Linked DNA regions of Homo sapiens: regions 2, 3, 4 and 5 are each linked to region 1. Evidence: promoter capture Hi-C in 16 types of primary human blood cells and fetal thymus (Javierre and others, 2016). All regions are on one chromosome and are shown on one strand. Each heading gives the region's core, a stretch centred on a gene start or on the middle of the fragment in contact. The rest is flanking DNA. Distances are from core to core; before and after follow the strand shown.

Region 1 (2,717 bases), core at 152-2,651:
CACACTAGGCTCTCTGTGTTCCCCTTCCTACAGCACAGTGATCATGTTCCGGTCTCTGGGCCTTTGTCCTTGCTGCTCTCATCTTTGGGCTGTTCCCCTCACCTCCCTTGGGTCCCCTCCAATGTTCTCTCCTCAGAGAGGACTCCTCTCATCACTCTATTCCTTTCCTCTGAATTGTTTCCTAACACTACCTCATGTCATATACCCACTTGCCCGTTTGTTTATGGTCTGCCTCCTCTGCCCGAACGAATGTAAGCCATGGAAGGAAGGATACGTCTTGCTCACAGTGGAATATCCACCACCGACAACAGTGAGGCCCAGAGGGGACACGCGGCAAGTTTGATGAGTGAATAAATGGCTGTTGCTGCTGCTTGGTGTAAATGCACAGGATGCTGAGATTAACAGGTACTTCTGAGAGTGCCTGGGAAAGGTGATGAGTGGGGGAGATTGCATGAGAGCGAGCTGATAAAGACCAGTAAATGGAAATCCTTACGGGCGCGGTCAAGGAGGGAGTGCAGGATTATAATGGCAGGAAAGACAGCAAACAGAGGCAGTTTATTGTGTGACTGATGATGTGTTTTTTGCACTAGACCACTTACTATGTGTGGCTCTGGGCGAACTTCTTAACCTTTCTAAGCCTCAATTACCCGATCAGTAAAATGAGGCTGATAACCATAGTGCCTTCCATCCAGGGTTGTGGTGGGGGTTAAATGAACTAATGGAGCCTGGCACCGGGTGAGCACCCAATAATTAATTGCTATGACGGATTCAAGATTGGGGGAAGAATGTGAAATGTTGCAATGCAAAGAGATGTTTCTGTAATCGTTGCGAATCTTGGTCCAAAACTTACTACCCTGGAATAGAACTTGTTCCCAACCACTCACCCACACAAACATGTCTCTGCCTTGCTAACGCCATCACCAGCCTTTTCTCCTCTCTGACTCTTCTGAGGTCTAGCCCAGCGCCTGGTACAATAAGTTTCTCCATAAGTATTTGTTGTTTTTCTTTGCACTTCTCACCAACAGTGCTGCCAAGATTTTAACCTGGTCAGGAGAATCTGGTCAGGCAGAGATTAGTGTCTCCAACCTTCCTAGGGGAGAATGGGCTAGGTAGAAAGATAGCACTCAGAGGGCTCTGAATCATCTATAAGGGTGGCATAGTCATAGGAGGAGAGTGGGTTTGGTCCACCAGAACCTCCCTAGGGAGCCATCTGCGTCCAAGGGCGGCCAGAGGCCAAGAAAAGGCGCTGAGGCCTTGGCTCCTTTAAGAGGCGTGGCCTCACTGCAGCCTCCGCAGAGGCGATTGGCTGAAGCTACCGGCCGCGTGGGGCGGGACTCGGTTGCCAGGGAGCGGCGCGGGAGCCCTGAGGGGACTGCGGCGGCTGCGCGGAGGAGCGAGGCACTTGCTGGGGTCGGGGCTGCGCGACGGCGCAGGGGCTGCGGGGAGCGCCGCGCAGGCCGTGCAGTTCCTAGCGAGGAGGCGCCGCCGCCATTGCCGCTCTCTCGGTGAGCGCAGCCCCGCTCTCCGGGCCGGGCCTTCGCGGGCCACCGGCGCCATGGGCCAGTGCGGCATCACCTCCTCCAAGACCGTGCTGGTCTTTCTCAACCTCATCTTCTGGGTGAGCGGGGCCGGGCAGAGCGAGGGGCCGGCGGCGGGGCCGGGCGAGGCCGCGGCGGAGGCGCCCGTGGGGGCCGGGCTTGGGCCTGGGCGGGCGCGCGGGGGCCGCGCGCGGGCCCTCAGGCGGCTGAGGCGAGGGGAGGGCCGGGTGTGAGGCCGCTTCGCGAGGTCCCTGCCGGACCAAGCCGGGAGCCTGGGCGCGGAGGACAGCGAGGGGAGGCCTTCAGGGACTCCACGGCCTCCAGCCGGCGCCTCCGCGCTCGGCCCACGCGGGCTGGCTCCGTGCCAGGCGCCCCAGTCTCCCCCCCCCGGAGTCGCCGGCTGGACGGAGAGCGCTTATTGCAGACTGTAGCAGGACGTCGGGCTCGAAATAGGATCTTCGCCAGAGGCTCAGGTTCCGCGCTCTTTGTCGGGGCCTCGCAGACGAGTGGCCGTCCCGAGGCGGGCAGATCCGCGGGGACGCTGCGGAGCCGGGGCGGGGGTTCCACTTAACGCCCTTTGTGTGTGGAGAACCGGCTGACTGTCACCAGCCCAGAAAATGAAGGGTTTCAACTCGAGGAGCCAAATAATCCATTGACCAAGAACATCGGTCTATTTGTTTTGGTCATGGGGGTGACCAAACTGTGAGATTATAACTCTTGGTTAAATATATGATGGAGATGTCACAAGATTTTGAAAGTGATGAGTTCACTTTCAATAAAAGGTGGCTTATGAATTTTTAAGGGGTACACCCTCTTTGAAAGGAATGTTTATGTCATCTTAGTTTGGGTCCTTATCTCATCAGGGACTTTTATAGTAACCTAAGTTGTTCCTATCCGTCTCTCCACCCTCCAGCCCATCTGGACTTTGCACCCGGATAAATCTTTTAAAACGTTTCCTCTATCACATCACTTGATCTGAAAATAAGGAAAACAGAAGCTTCAGCGGTAGAATAAGGTTCAACTCCTTCCCCTGGTCTTGGAGCAGAAGTCCTCAGTCTGGTCCCAAATCACCTTGCCTCTCTGAACTTGTCATTTCCTTAAACACTTGAGTGCCCTGGACAGATTGCTCTGTCCACAGTCGCCAGAGCACTCCTTGAACATTCCGGTTAACCATACTGT
Region 2 (2,717 bases), core at 150-2,649, 430 kb before region 1:
CCTTGCCAGGGTCTTGCTCTGTCCAGCTGGGCATCTGGTGACTGGGCCATCCTGAGTCCCCTGACTGAAGAAGATGTCCTAGGAAAGATGTGTCTGAGCTGCATCAGCTCTGGGAAGCTGCCCAAGCTGAGGCTGAGGCCCTTTACCTCGAACCTGGAAATCTCTGCCTGCTTCAGCCTTGTCGATGAGGCAAAGCCTCAGAGTGGACGTCCCAACTCATGCATTGCTGGCCAGGACGTGCAGCCATCTGGAGCACAGGTCCAGGGCTGGAAGGGCACTTGTGGGCAGTCACTCCACTTCTTCCTCCTATTCACATGGGGGAAACCAAGGCCTCAAGAGAGGAAGGCGTTTGATCAAGGCCAGTCCAGGATTCTGTGTCCAAACAGGTGTTCACATCCCCTGTTCAGTGCTCAGGGGTCTGCCACATATGACCCCGAACCTCAGTGAGTCAACTAACATACACTGTGCCAGGCACCCCCAAGGACGCTAAAATCCCACAATAATACAGCAGACATGTCATGGCCCCTATTGCTTCATTGCCTCATAGACACAGGAGATGATGGAGCCTCAGAGTACTGTAGAAACTTATCTGAAGTTGGTGAGTGGCGGGGCCAGCACTGAAGCCCAGTTTCCCACCTGCAAGCTCACTGCCCTTTGCATCCCCCCATTTGTAACGCCCAGTTCTCTGCTGCCAACTTCCCCCAAGGCCTCACAGGCATCTCCAACAGAAGCCCATCTTTCAGCGCTGCCCCTCCAGCGGTCCTCCAGTGCTGCCCCTTGCTGCAGGCCCTCCTTCCACCCCAGGACTGCTGGTATTTGCATAGCTCTCTATAGTGTACAAAGCTTTCCCCAGTACATTATGTCAGGTTGATTTCCCCAACGGAAACTCCAGCCCCAGCGGGGAGCACCTGCTTCTCTTGGGCAATTACCCTTGAGAGGCCAGAAGGCGCACCCCGCGCAAAGGGTTCCTTACAAAATGTCAGACTGTTCCAAGCAAACAGAAATGGGCCCTGAGCCAGCTCAGCTGTGGCAGGGAGAACTCTAGGAATTAAGGCCTCCCAGACTGCAGCTTGGTACTCTGTCTCCTTACAAGCCTCATCCCACTTCTCAGCACCTGCAAGGAAGAACGCCCTGCTCATTAGCCACTCTGGGAGCGGCAGACAAAGAGCCCAGCTGCCTTTCCTCCTTCCTCTGGACCCCAGGTTGCCACTAGGCTAGGTGTGGGGTCCCTTGATTTCCTCTTGTTCCCACAGGGCTCCCCACTTATGCAGACATCTATCTATGCCTGCCCCAGAAGGCCTCGGCTGAGGACTCTTGGTCAGCAAAGGCAGGACTTTGTTTCTCTTTTACTAAAGATATTTTTTTCCCTATCAAATCTCCTCCAGATCCCCAGGCACTCATATGCCCAGAGTAGAGGTGCTTTTTGCAAAATTCTGGCTCAGCATAGAGGACACTGGACTTTGAGTCCAAAGACCTAAATTTAAGTCCCCGCTGTGCTGCTTTTGAGCTGTGTGTACAGCTGCCATGTGCAGCTGTACAGGTTGTGCACTACCTCGCTATTCAAAGTGGGATCCAGAGACCGGGAGCATACATATCACAGGCGAGCTTGTTAGAAATACAGACTCTTGGGCCCTACCCCAGAGTGACTGAATCAAAATCTGTTTTAACGAGATCCTCTGGTGATTTAAAGACCCAAGTTGGAGAATCGCTGGTGTATTACGATCCGAGGGAGCACCACTGACCAGGGTGTGAGCAGCACCCCTAGAATCGTGTGACATGCTCTCCTGCTCGGGCAAATCACTTCTCCTCTTTGGGTCTCATTTTCTGGGTCTGCCAAGTGGGAATATAATGCCTCTCCCCTAGGGTGGCTGCACTGCTTACATAAGGAATAAGCATCAGAGAGCATCTCCTGAGGAGAGGGCTCAAGTGGGGTCAGCTAGGGTTGACAAGCTTGCCTCTTTCAGGAGGTAAGCTTGGGAATTTTCACCACCCTGAGGGCTTACAGGAAAAACAGGATCCTCAGGTTTTGGAGCTGGAAAGGATTTGAGGGACTCCTTTGATTGAGCAGACATTCAACTTTCAGTCAACAATTTTACAGATGATGAAACTGAGGAAGGACAGGTGAAATAGCAAAACTGATGGTTTTGATACCAGATTTTGCTATCAGTGACTGAGCTGGGACTGGAGTCCAGCCCAGTTCCATCTCACTGCCCCCTCTCCCCATAAGCTCTAGCAGTTGTGTAAAGTTGTTCTTGCAACTTATCTATCTATGCTTTGTCTTCAGCACTTCATGGGGATGAACTGGAGGGAGGCTGGATAGAAGTTGCATCTTCCTTAAAAAAGAATACCTAAGCAAATAAGTAGATGGCTGTTTTTCAGAGTTAAATAGGGGATTGTCAGGAAAGATGAAACCACTCAGAAAGGAGTACATCAACACTGATTTTTTTGTTGTTCGTTTTGCTTTTGTTTTTGCGACAGGGCTTCACTCTGTTGCCTAGCCTGGAGTCCAGTGGGATCCTAGCTCACTGCAACCTTGAACTCCTGGGCTCAAATGATCCTCCCACCTCAGCTTCCTGAGTAGCTGGGACTCCAGGGGCATGCCATCACGCCTGGCTAATTTTTTTTTATTTTTTGTAGAGACAGGGTCTCACTATGTTGCCCATGCTGGTCTCAAACTCCTGGCCTCAAGTGATCCTCTTGCCTTGGCCTCTCGAAGT
Region 3 (2,717 bases), core at 107-2,606, 410 kb before region 1:
ACTCCATGTCTGTGCAGGAGCAATGCTTAGAAAACAGCAGGCAGTACCAGTGAGGAAGGAAAGAGCATTCTCCTTTAGGGCAGCAATCACAAAGCCACACTGAGGGCTGGCACCCACTGAGCACCGTGTGGGGTAGGAAACACAGCCTTGCTCCACAGGGCACTGTCAGCAAGAAGCTCCTTTCTTTGGAGTCACAGCAGGGCAATGATGGGAGAAGACTGGGCCTGTCCAATGCAAGAAACTCTCCTTCAGAACCTTGCTGAGCAACCAGTTAGTCCAGAGGTCAGAAAATGGAGATGTATAAATTGGTGGGGGCCAAGGAAAGCAAAAATAACCCCCAGAGGCATTTAAAAAAGTGACAGCTAGGTAAGAAAACTGGAGCTCCACTGATAAAAGGGTCTAAGCGAAATTACAATGAAAAGTCTTCCTTTCTGCAGCAGCAGATGTCAGCATCCGGGTCACCTAGTAAGCTGAAGATATGCAGATCCACTTTAACAGAAATGGAAATGGTAGGAACCTGAAGACCCGGGAGAGTGGCTGTACACCTTCAAAGCTTCACATAAGGACAATTCCATAGGAAGCTCATATACATGTTGCTGCTCCCTCATTTGGCTTCCTGGGGTGATGGCCTTTCACTCACTGATAATTCTTTCACAAGCAAAGGGATCTGCACTCTTTCTCTGCCCCCACTCAGTTCAAATTTCCATGGATGGCTTCTCATTCCTCACAAGTAAAAACACTTATGGAACATCTTGGAGTTCTAAGACCTGTAGAATCAGGAAAACAAAACAAAACAAAAACAAAAACAAACAAGGAAAATAACACCAAGAAAGTAAGTATTGAATGGAAGGGGTTAGCGCTATGGATTTTAAAAATGCTTTGGTTTCATAAGCGTTAAAGTGAGTGCAGGGTGTATGTAAACTGAAGAACTCATAAAGCTGTAAGCAGGCAACCTCATTGAGATGTTTTACATAACATTTCAATGAGAAACATGGCCCTGTTCCAGTTCAGCAACAATGGGAGGTAGGAAAATCATCAGCTAAACACAGAAAAGCAACTATCAGGGACAAACCTGAGGAGGGAAAATGAGTACCCTACTTTAGTCTGAAGAATGTATGGTCAATCAAAACCAATTTTCTTCAAGTGTTAACTAAGGATATCTGCATGTATAGAGATGTATTATGTGCATATAATCAAGAACATTTCTCATATTAATAAAAATACAGTCACATAAGATTTTTTTTCCCTAAACTCAAACAGCCAAATATTATCATTGAAATCAGGCAACATATGCATTTTAATAGTTTATATAAGGTAGTCACCTTTCAACTTAAAATCACCCTCATGGCCTCCTCCTAGCTCCACTTGTCTCTAGGTACTACTCAGCTACAAGAAAGGTGACAGACAGGTAGGGTAATTCTTCCACTGTATATTTATCAAAATAATTTTAAAATGAGCTAAAATTCTATAACATTATAATTCCTGGATTACAATTTTTATCTGTTTACTTCCTATGTATCTTAATGCTCTATTTCAGGATTTTTTAGTGCTTTCCCCTTCCCCCATCCACCTCTTCCTTAGAGCAATGTTTTAGAAACCCAGTGAATGAGAGAGTTTAGATATCTGTGGTTCTAGTCTTGGATTCTGTACTCATCTACGCAGATATTTTCAAGCAAGATGTTTCTCCTCTCTGGGATTCAGTTTCTTCATATATAAAATGTTAGATTTCTAAAGGTCCCTAATATGCTCCTCTGAAACTTGTAGACCATTAGCTTCCCTTCACTCACTGGCTCCTGACAGTGGATGAAAACTTTGCCAAACTCTTGTCAGAGTAATTAATTGCATCATGAGTGCTGGGGACATCAGCCTCGCTGTCTGTACATATTTGTATAATGAGGCCAAACCAGTATTAATCACAGTCTTTGTAATTGTTTCCTTTGACAGTTTTGGGGGTGTGGGGAACCATCTATTGTTAGTTATGTTTGCATGGCTAGACTGTAAGAATCTGTAGTAATATAACAGTTCACACTTTTAGCTATTTTTTCAGGGGCAAAATATTTGTAGGTTAAAATCAAGGATAATAGTAATATTCTAAGTTTTCAAAGACTCATCAGAAAACAAATAATATAGTTTATACTCTTGAGATGAAAAAAGCTTTAGGAGAGTCTTACTGGCAAAATGCTCAAAATGGAAAACCACTTTTGGGTCAATACTTAATTAGCTGCCCTGTATCTATGTGAAGAGACACGATGTTATCAATTAATGTTTTCTTTCACAATCTTCCACACTGTTTCTCCCAGCTCTCACTTTTCAAGCCTACAAGAGTGCTAATTGAAAACACTGTACGAAAATGGGAAGGATGATGAGCTCCTGAATATCCCAGGCCTAGATTTACAAGCTGTTCCCTTCATAAGCAGCAGCAGTAATGCCACTTCTTTATTCTGCAGGGAGTCCAGCCATCTCTAAGAAGTACAGTCCATTCCATCTGGCTACTCCCTAGAAGGATAGTAATCCTTTCCCCATCAGAGCATGGCTGAGGCTAAAATATAATGCATTGCCTTGTACAGTTACCATCCAAGGGCATCACCAAGAAGTATAAAGACTTCTGCCTTTGTCTTTACTAGGCATTTATCTTTATATATGTTGCTCAAAGTCCAAACCAAACCAGAATATAAATTATGTATATGAGTGTGCTCATGTACTCACAGGACAAATAA
Region 4 (2,717 bases), core at 130-2,629, 390 kb before region 1:
TTTAAACTATAGTTCTTATCAACATAGTATATGTTTTGCTTATTTATCCTGTTTATTGTCTGACTCAACAAGTAGAATTTGAACTTTAAAAGGCCTATGATTTTTATCTATTTTGATCAATGCTTTCTATCTAATGCCTGGAACAATGACACATAGCAGATACTCAGAAAGTTTTTACTGAATGAATATAGTAACTAAGCAGCCTTTAGAAAAGTCTTGGAGAACACTTTCATCTGAGTAGTGAGGTCAAAGGCGGATATCAACGAGGTGAGACATAAATGTGAGGGAAGGAAACAGAATTACAAAGTATAGCCTATTTTTTAAACAGCTCTAAAGAATATTAAAATAATTCATCTTAGGGATTAGCTAGCACTTCAGTCTATTAGTGAACACACTTTCTCTTTGCCAAATAACTTCTAAACATCTAGAAAAGATAAAAATTCAAGTGGAACAGAGATTTTCAAGGGAAGAGGTGGACTACTGTTATTAACCCTTTTCTATATCTCTTTAAATATTTGTCAAAAGATCCCACAGAAAGGAGAAGGGGGTGGGATGGGGAAAGGAACAGAAGTCAGCTAAAGTTACTAAGCATCTTGAATAAAGAACCACATTAAAAAATCTGATCTTTGGGAAAAAACTATTTTAATATCTGTGGTAATTTGAACAGAAAAAATGCATTTGTTTTTTAGAGCTAGCTCTGTGGCAGGTATTTCCTTAATGGTGACTATATAATTTTCTTAACTGGAGTCACCAGTGTTTGCTAGATTCCACATATTGTTGTACCAGTTCACAAAAACCAGAGCACTGCAAAAGATAATTGAATGCAGATTACAAAGTGGTTTATGATGGCTGTCACTCTCTTTGCAAAGTGAAACAAGTGCACCGTCTATTCTTATGATATAAAACTGCCTCTTTAGGACCTCTTACTTTGCTAGAAGCTTTGTTTTGAGGCCTATGGAGAAGTCCAGTGTCCTAAAGCAGCTGCTTACCCAGTGGTAGCCAGATCATTACTCTCCTTGGAACCGTCTTCATCTGCAAAAAGGGGCGGTAGGGTGGAGCTAGTCATCAAGTTTTCCATCTCTCTGAAAGGAAAAGAGAATAAAAAAAAATTAATGGCTTAATTACTTCCATTTCAAGTTCCACTAATTTAAGAGCCAGCCTTCTTGAACTTTATCATATAAGCAACAGAATAAAAACTGACCTAAATATTTATTTTCTTGACTTGGACACATCAATTTAAACTGTATGGTAAATGGGCCTTTTAACCTTGGTCTTATCAACTGACCAGACTGAAAACAAGTTAGGTTTTAACAAATGGGATGTGGTTTGGAAAATTCCTTTTTATTTATCCAGAGTATCTTCAAAAGTATTCATTTCCTGTAGAAATTGTTAAGCAGGGTAACTCAGAAGCACTGCCACTCTGAGCAAGCTATTTAAGCTCTTTGAGCTACAATTTCACCATCTTAGACTAAGACAAAATTGCTGACTTAACCCAAAGGGTTATTGTGAGAGATTAAAATGAAAGTGCTCCATAAACAGAGAAAATCTAAGGTAGTAAGTGCATTGAGTATTATATAAAGAAAGATATTGTTATTACAGCATTACCAGTTCTCAGTCCCAGATGAATCATCTATAGATTAAATGATGGCAAACTGAGCCCTCCAAAAGGAAATAATGCAAAGGAAGTAGAGGATGGAAGGCATGCTGATGTGGCTCTCAGTCAAAGAAACCACACTTCCAGGTCAGAAATATGCTCCACACACCATCATAACCAAGAGCAGAAATAGCATGCACCTGGGTACAGGAAACAACTAAGCTTAATTGAAGAAAACAAACAAATCACAAGAACTGAGGTTATCAGACTGAAAGGATAAAAGGACAAAGTGACAAAGAGAATAATTTCATTTGGCATATCACTATGAAAAACGATTTTTGCCTTTCAAGGCTTACCACAAAGGGCATCACCCCATGTAGTTAAAAGCAGCAGTCTTCCCTTCATCATGAAAGGGATATTCAAACAAAACATTCAGCAGTGACCCCAAACATCAGCCACTTACACAGAACTGCAAAGCACTCAAGAAAGAGTGCCTCAATCAATTGGGAGAATTGAGAAGCAAATTATGAGAATTCACTTAGGAGCTTCCTCAGGAGTTATTTCAGGCGCTGCTGCTGCTAAGGAGACCTGGTGAAACAGCAATTAAAAGGAAAGCACAGCGGCAAAGCAGAGCCAGGATCACTCCACTGAGGTGGAAATATGAAGAAAATGCCGATGACACGAGGACCACATTCTCCATGTTCAATGGAGTGATTTATTTCCAAAAGATAACACTGATGTTTTATTCCTTATTCTTACTTATTCTCACTTCTAAGTTTATTATTTAGCAGGCCAAGTTCCATAAACAGCTTGATGGGAAAAACACATCTCTGTACAAATATTACCCATTACAGTAGGTAGAGCATGGAAGGTAGAGAGGAACTTCTCACTCAACCATCATAAGCACTTTATTCTACTGCAGGAATGCTTGCAACCTCTTTTCAGTTCCTTCAAGATAAGGTGTTTACAAGTGGAATAGCTCTAATAAATACCACAAAATTCCATTCCACATGTTTTACTGAATAACCCTGACTCAAGTGTACTTAAGTTTTAATTCACATTATACAATACAAAGGCGAGATTAAAGCCTGGGCTGCTAACATCACCTCACACCAATGTCAAT
Region 5 (2,717 bases), core at 129-2,628, 370 kb before region 1:
ATCATAAAAAATAGATATATAAGAACAAAGATTGGAAGGAAACACATCAAAATGTTCAAAGTGTTGGGAGGCCGAGGTGGGCAGATCACTTAAAGTCAGGAGTTCAAAACCAGCCTGGACAACATGGTGAAACCCTGTCTCTACTAAAAATACAAAAATTAGCCCGGTATGGTGGCAGGAGCCTATAATCCCAGCTACTCTGGAGGCTGAGGAAGGAGAATCGCTTAAACCTGGGAGGTGGAGGTTGCAGTGATGAGGGATCACACCACTGCACTCCAGCCTGGGTTACAGAGCGAGATTCTGTCTCAAAAAAAAAAAAAAAAAAAAAAAGTTCAAAGTAGTTATGTCAGGGTGGTGAAATTATGAATAATTACTTTCCAATCTTTGTTTTAAACTCAACCTTCAGCAGTATGGTTTTGTTACTTTAAAGAAAGAGGAAAAGTGCCATCAAGGATCACAGATGTTTTAAAATTAAATTTTAATTTCACATGCAATACTTAGTTTCTTTTTTGTAAAAAAAATATGGCTACACGTAGAGCTAAAATTCCCTTTTTGCCAGACTCTCCATACTCCCCTTTCCAGAAAAACACCATTAGAAGGATTTCTAAGTCCAGCCTGAGTGACAGAGCAAGACTCCATCTCAAAAACAAACAAACAAGGAGTTTCTAGCTTATTGCTGAAAGATGCCTTAAAGATAGTTGCTAATGATATATTCTTTCTCTCTCTCATCAGAATTAGGACTATAGGGCAGAGAAGAGTACGCATGTCTAGCAGGGAGAGTAAGGGCACAATTTATAAACCTCATGCTTTATATTAAAAATTCCCTTAAATTCTGCAGTCAGTTTTATAAAGCAGTATTTATTTTAACACAAGAATTAATGTTTTAAATTGCACGAGGCCAGGACAAGGATCATGTAGCCTCAAAACAGTATTTCCCCATGAGTGCAATAACACACAGCACAGATTCAGTTCATTTTCTTGACAGATAACTGACATATTTTGATACTGAGGGGAAAAAAGTGTTGTGACTTCCTTATTGAATATCTCCACTATATAGCAATATATTGAGAAGTTCTAACTCAATTTATGTCCTATTAACTTTCCAGATAAGTTACATGAAAATACACTGAAATTATCAAACAAGAATACCATTTAATTATGGGAAAACAGACCAGGAAAATGAGCTCAGCATTTCCTTAAGAGGTTTAACTCTGAAAATTACAATATATCTGAGGTTGTTATATGTACATTCTTATGTCACTGGCAGGAAAAGTAACAAGCTTTTGGTAAGTTGTTGTTTTACTTCTTGCCAATATACCTTAAGATAAACCTAAAATGTAATGTGTTTGATTCATCTCTAATTCCACTGGCATCTCTGTGCCTTCAGAAATTGGACTCTAAATTGCCTTACACGAAAAAGAAAAGTTATTGGTACTCTCAAGCTCATCATTACAATATTTTTCCACAGAAGCTTCTCTGGAGGCATTTATTCTTACTAGAAACTCTGTCCAAATATTTAATTTGGCCCTGGGTGTTTAGTAACATTAGAATATTTAAAAGACAAAGTTGATAAATTACAATCAAGATGTAGTAATGTGAGCTATGAGGGAAAAAAAGCTTAACTGTGATTTCTACAACAAATTCACTCAAAATTTGGAGACAAAAAGCATCTCAAATATTTGATAAAGGATGATATGCTGCATAAACTACAAGGAGACAACCTGAGGCAGTAGGAAGAGCTCTGAATCGAAGTCAGGAAATCTGACTTTGAGTTCAGGATATACTACCAACTAACTGGTTTCTGGGATCACTAAATGACTCTGGCTCAAGTTTTTTCACCTGTTCATGAAGAACAAAATCAACTTCAAATTTGTTTAGCTGTCAGACTACATAGAATACTGAGAAACAGTATATTTAATTATATGAACTAGAAACACTAACAAACTAGCAGAAAATAGGAATATATTAAAAATTCAATATAAAATCACAACCATAAACATATATGTACACAAACAAACACAGAGTTCTCTAAGCATGGTATGCACTTCTGAATTCTGTTCATATTTATTTGCTATCTGGGAGGGAGTCTCAGTTTATACTGAGGGCTCTGGAGTCAGACTGCCTAGATTCCAATCTCATCTTTTACGTATTAGCTGTGGAACTTGGGCAAGCTAGTCAAAAGCTCCAAACCAAGGTTTTCTTATCCTATAAATGAGAAGAGTAATAGTACATACTATATAGAAGTTATCTCAAGAAGTAATCTGTGTAAATAAAGCAGGTAGTATGGTGTCATCATATAGTAAGAGCCTAATAACAATAATGATAGCAATAATTGCAGCAAGAATTTATTGCTTACTAAGTACCAGGCACTATTTTAAGAGCTATACGTGTATGATACCACTTAATCCACACATCTGCCGTATCAAGTAGATATTATCATTAGCACCTATTTTATAGTGAACAAACTGATCCACAGAGGGGTTAAGTAACTTACAAATGTTTACTGTGATAGTCACTATGGCTATTCAAAAATATTTAGATCTCCTTTCAGAAACATAAGAGGAAACTTCCTCACTGCCTCAGAGAAGACACAAGGACCATGTAACTCATGGGCAATGAAAGTGAGTGACATATGATTCTTCTGGGCAGAAAATCTGAGTCTATAAGCAATTTGCCATGTTTCCTTCCCCTGAATACAGTGACTGTGGAAGTATATA

What was found. Contacts are between HindIII fragments. The CHiCAGO score rates a contact against its expected background, and 5 or more counts as called.
Region 2: a contact is called between a fragment that was not itself captured here and the fragment with the promoter of TSPAN3 in region 1, in 7 of 17 cell types (naive B cells, M0 macrophages, naive CD8 T cells and 4 more). The highest score is 7.2, in naive B cells.
Region 3: a fragment that was not itself captured here is called in contact with the fragment with the promoter of TSPAN3 in region 1 in 4 of 17 cell types (naive CD4 T cells, activated CD4 T cells, naive CD8 T cells and 1 more); the score reaches 7.2 in naive CD4 T cells.
Region 4: a fragment that was not itself captured here is called in contact with the fragment with the promoter of TSPAN3 in region 1 in 5 of 17 cell types (naive CD8 T cells, naive CD4 T cells, total CD8 T cells and 2 more); the score reaches 7.1 in naive CD8 T cells.
Region 5: a fragment that was not itself captured here is called in contact with the fragment with the promoter of TSPAN3 in region 1 in 1 of 17 cell types (total CD8 T cells); the score reaches 5.4 in total CD8 T cells.

The regions. Positions count from the first base shown.
Region 1 is chr15:77,069,793-77,072,509 of GRCh38, reverse strand. It overlaps TSPAN3 (tetraspanin 3), which reads left to right and starts at 1,401. Exons shown (of 7, transcript NM_005724.6): 1 at 1,401-1,618. The coding sequence starts at 1,556. RefSeq lists an enhancer at 1,035-1,094 and a silencer at 1,235-1,934. The HindIII fragment of the contact is 12,417 bases long and covers 1-2,537 here.
Region 2 is chr15:77,502,721-77,505,437 of GRCh38, reverse strand. It overlaps a transcript of HMG20A not described here. Among named protein-coding and RNA genes, the nearest start is that of HMG20A, 83 kb to the right of the region's middle. The HindIII fragment of the contact is 1,107 bases long and covers 846-1,952 here.
Region 3 is chr15:77,481,020-77,483,736 of GRCh38, reverse strand. HMG20A (high mobility group 20A) reads right to left here. Exons shown (of 10, transcript NM_001304504.2): 10 at 1-767. Among named protein-coding and RNA genes, the nearest start is that of HMG20A, 61 kb to the right of the region's middle. The HindIII fragment of the contact is 1,601 bases long and covers 556-2,156 here.
Region 4 is chr15:77,456,769-77,459,485 of GRCh38, reverse strand. HMG20A (high mobility group 20A) reads right to left here. Exons shown (of 10, transcript NM_001304504.2): 2 at 990-1,082. The coding sequence starts at 1,078. Among named protein-coding and RNA genes, the nearest start is that of HMG20A, 37 kb to the right of the region's middle. The HindIII fragment of the contact is 878 bases long and covers 941-1,818 here.
Region 5 is chr15:77,440,641-77,443,357 of GRCh38, reverse strand. The region is part of intron 1 of HMG20A (high mobility group 20A); the gene reads right to left. Among named protein-coding and RNA genes, the nearest start is that of HMG20A, 21 kb to the right of the region's middle. The HindIII fragment of the contact is 191 bases long and covers 1,283-1,473 here.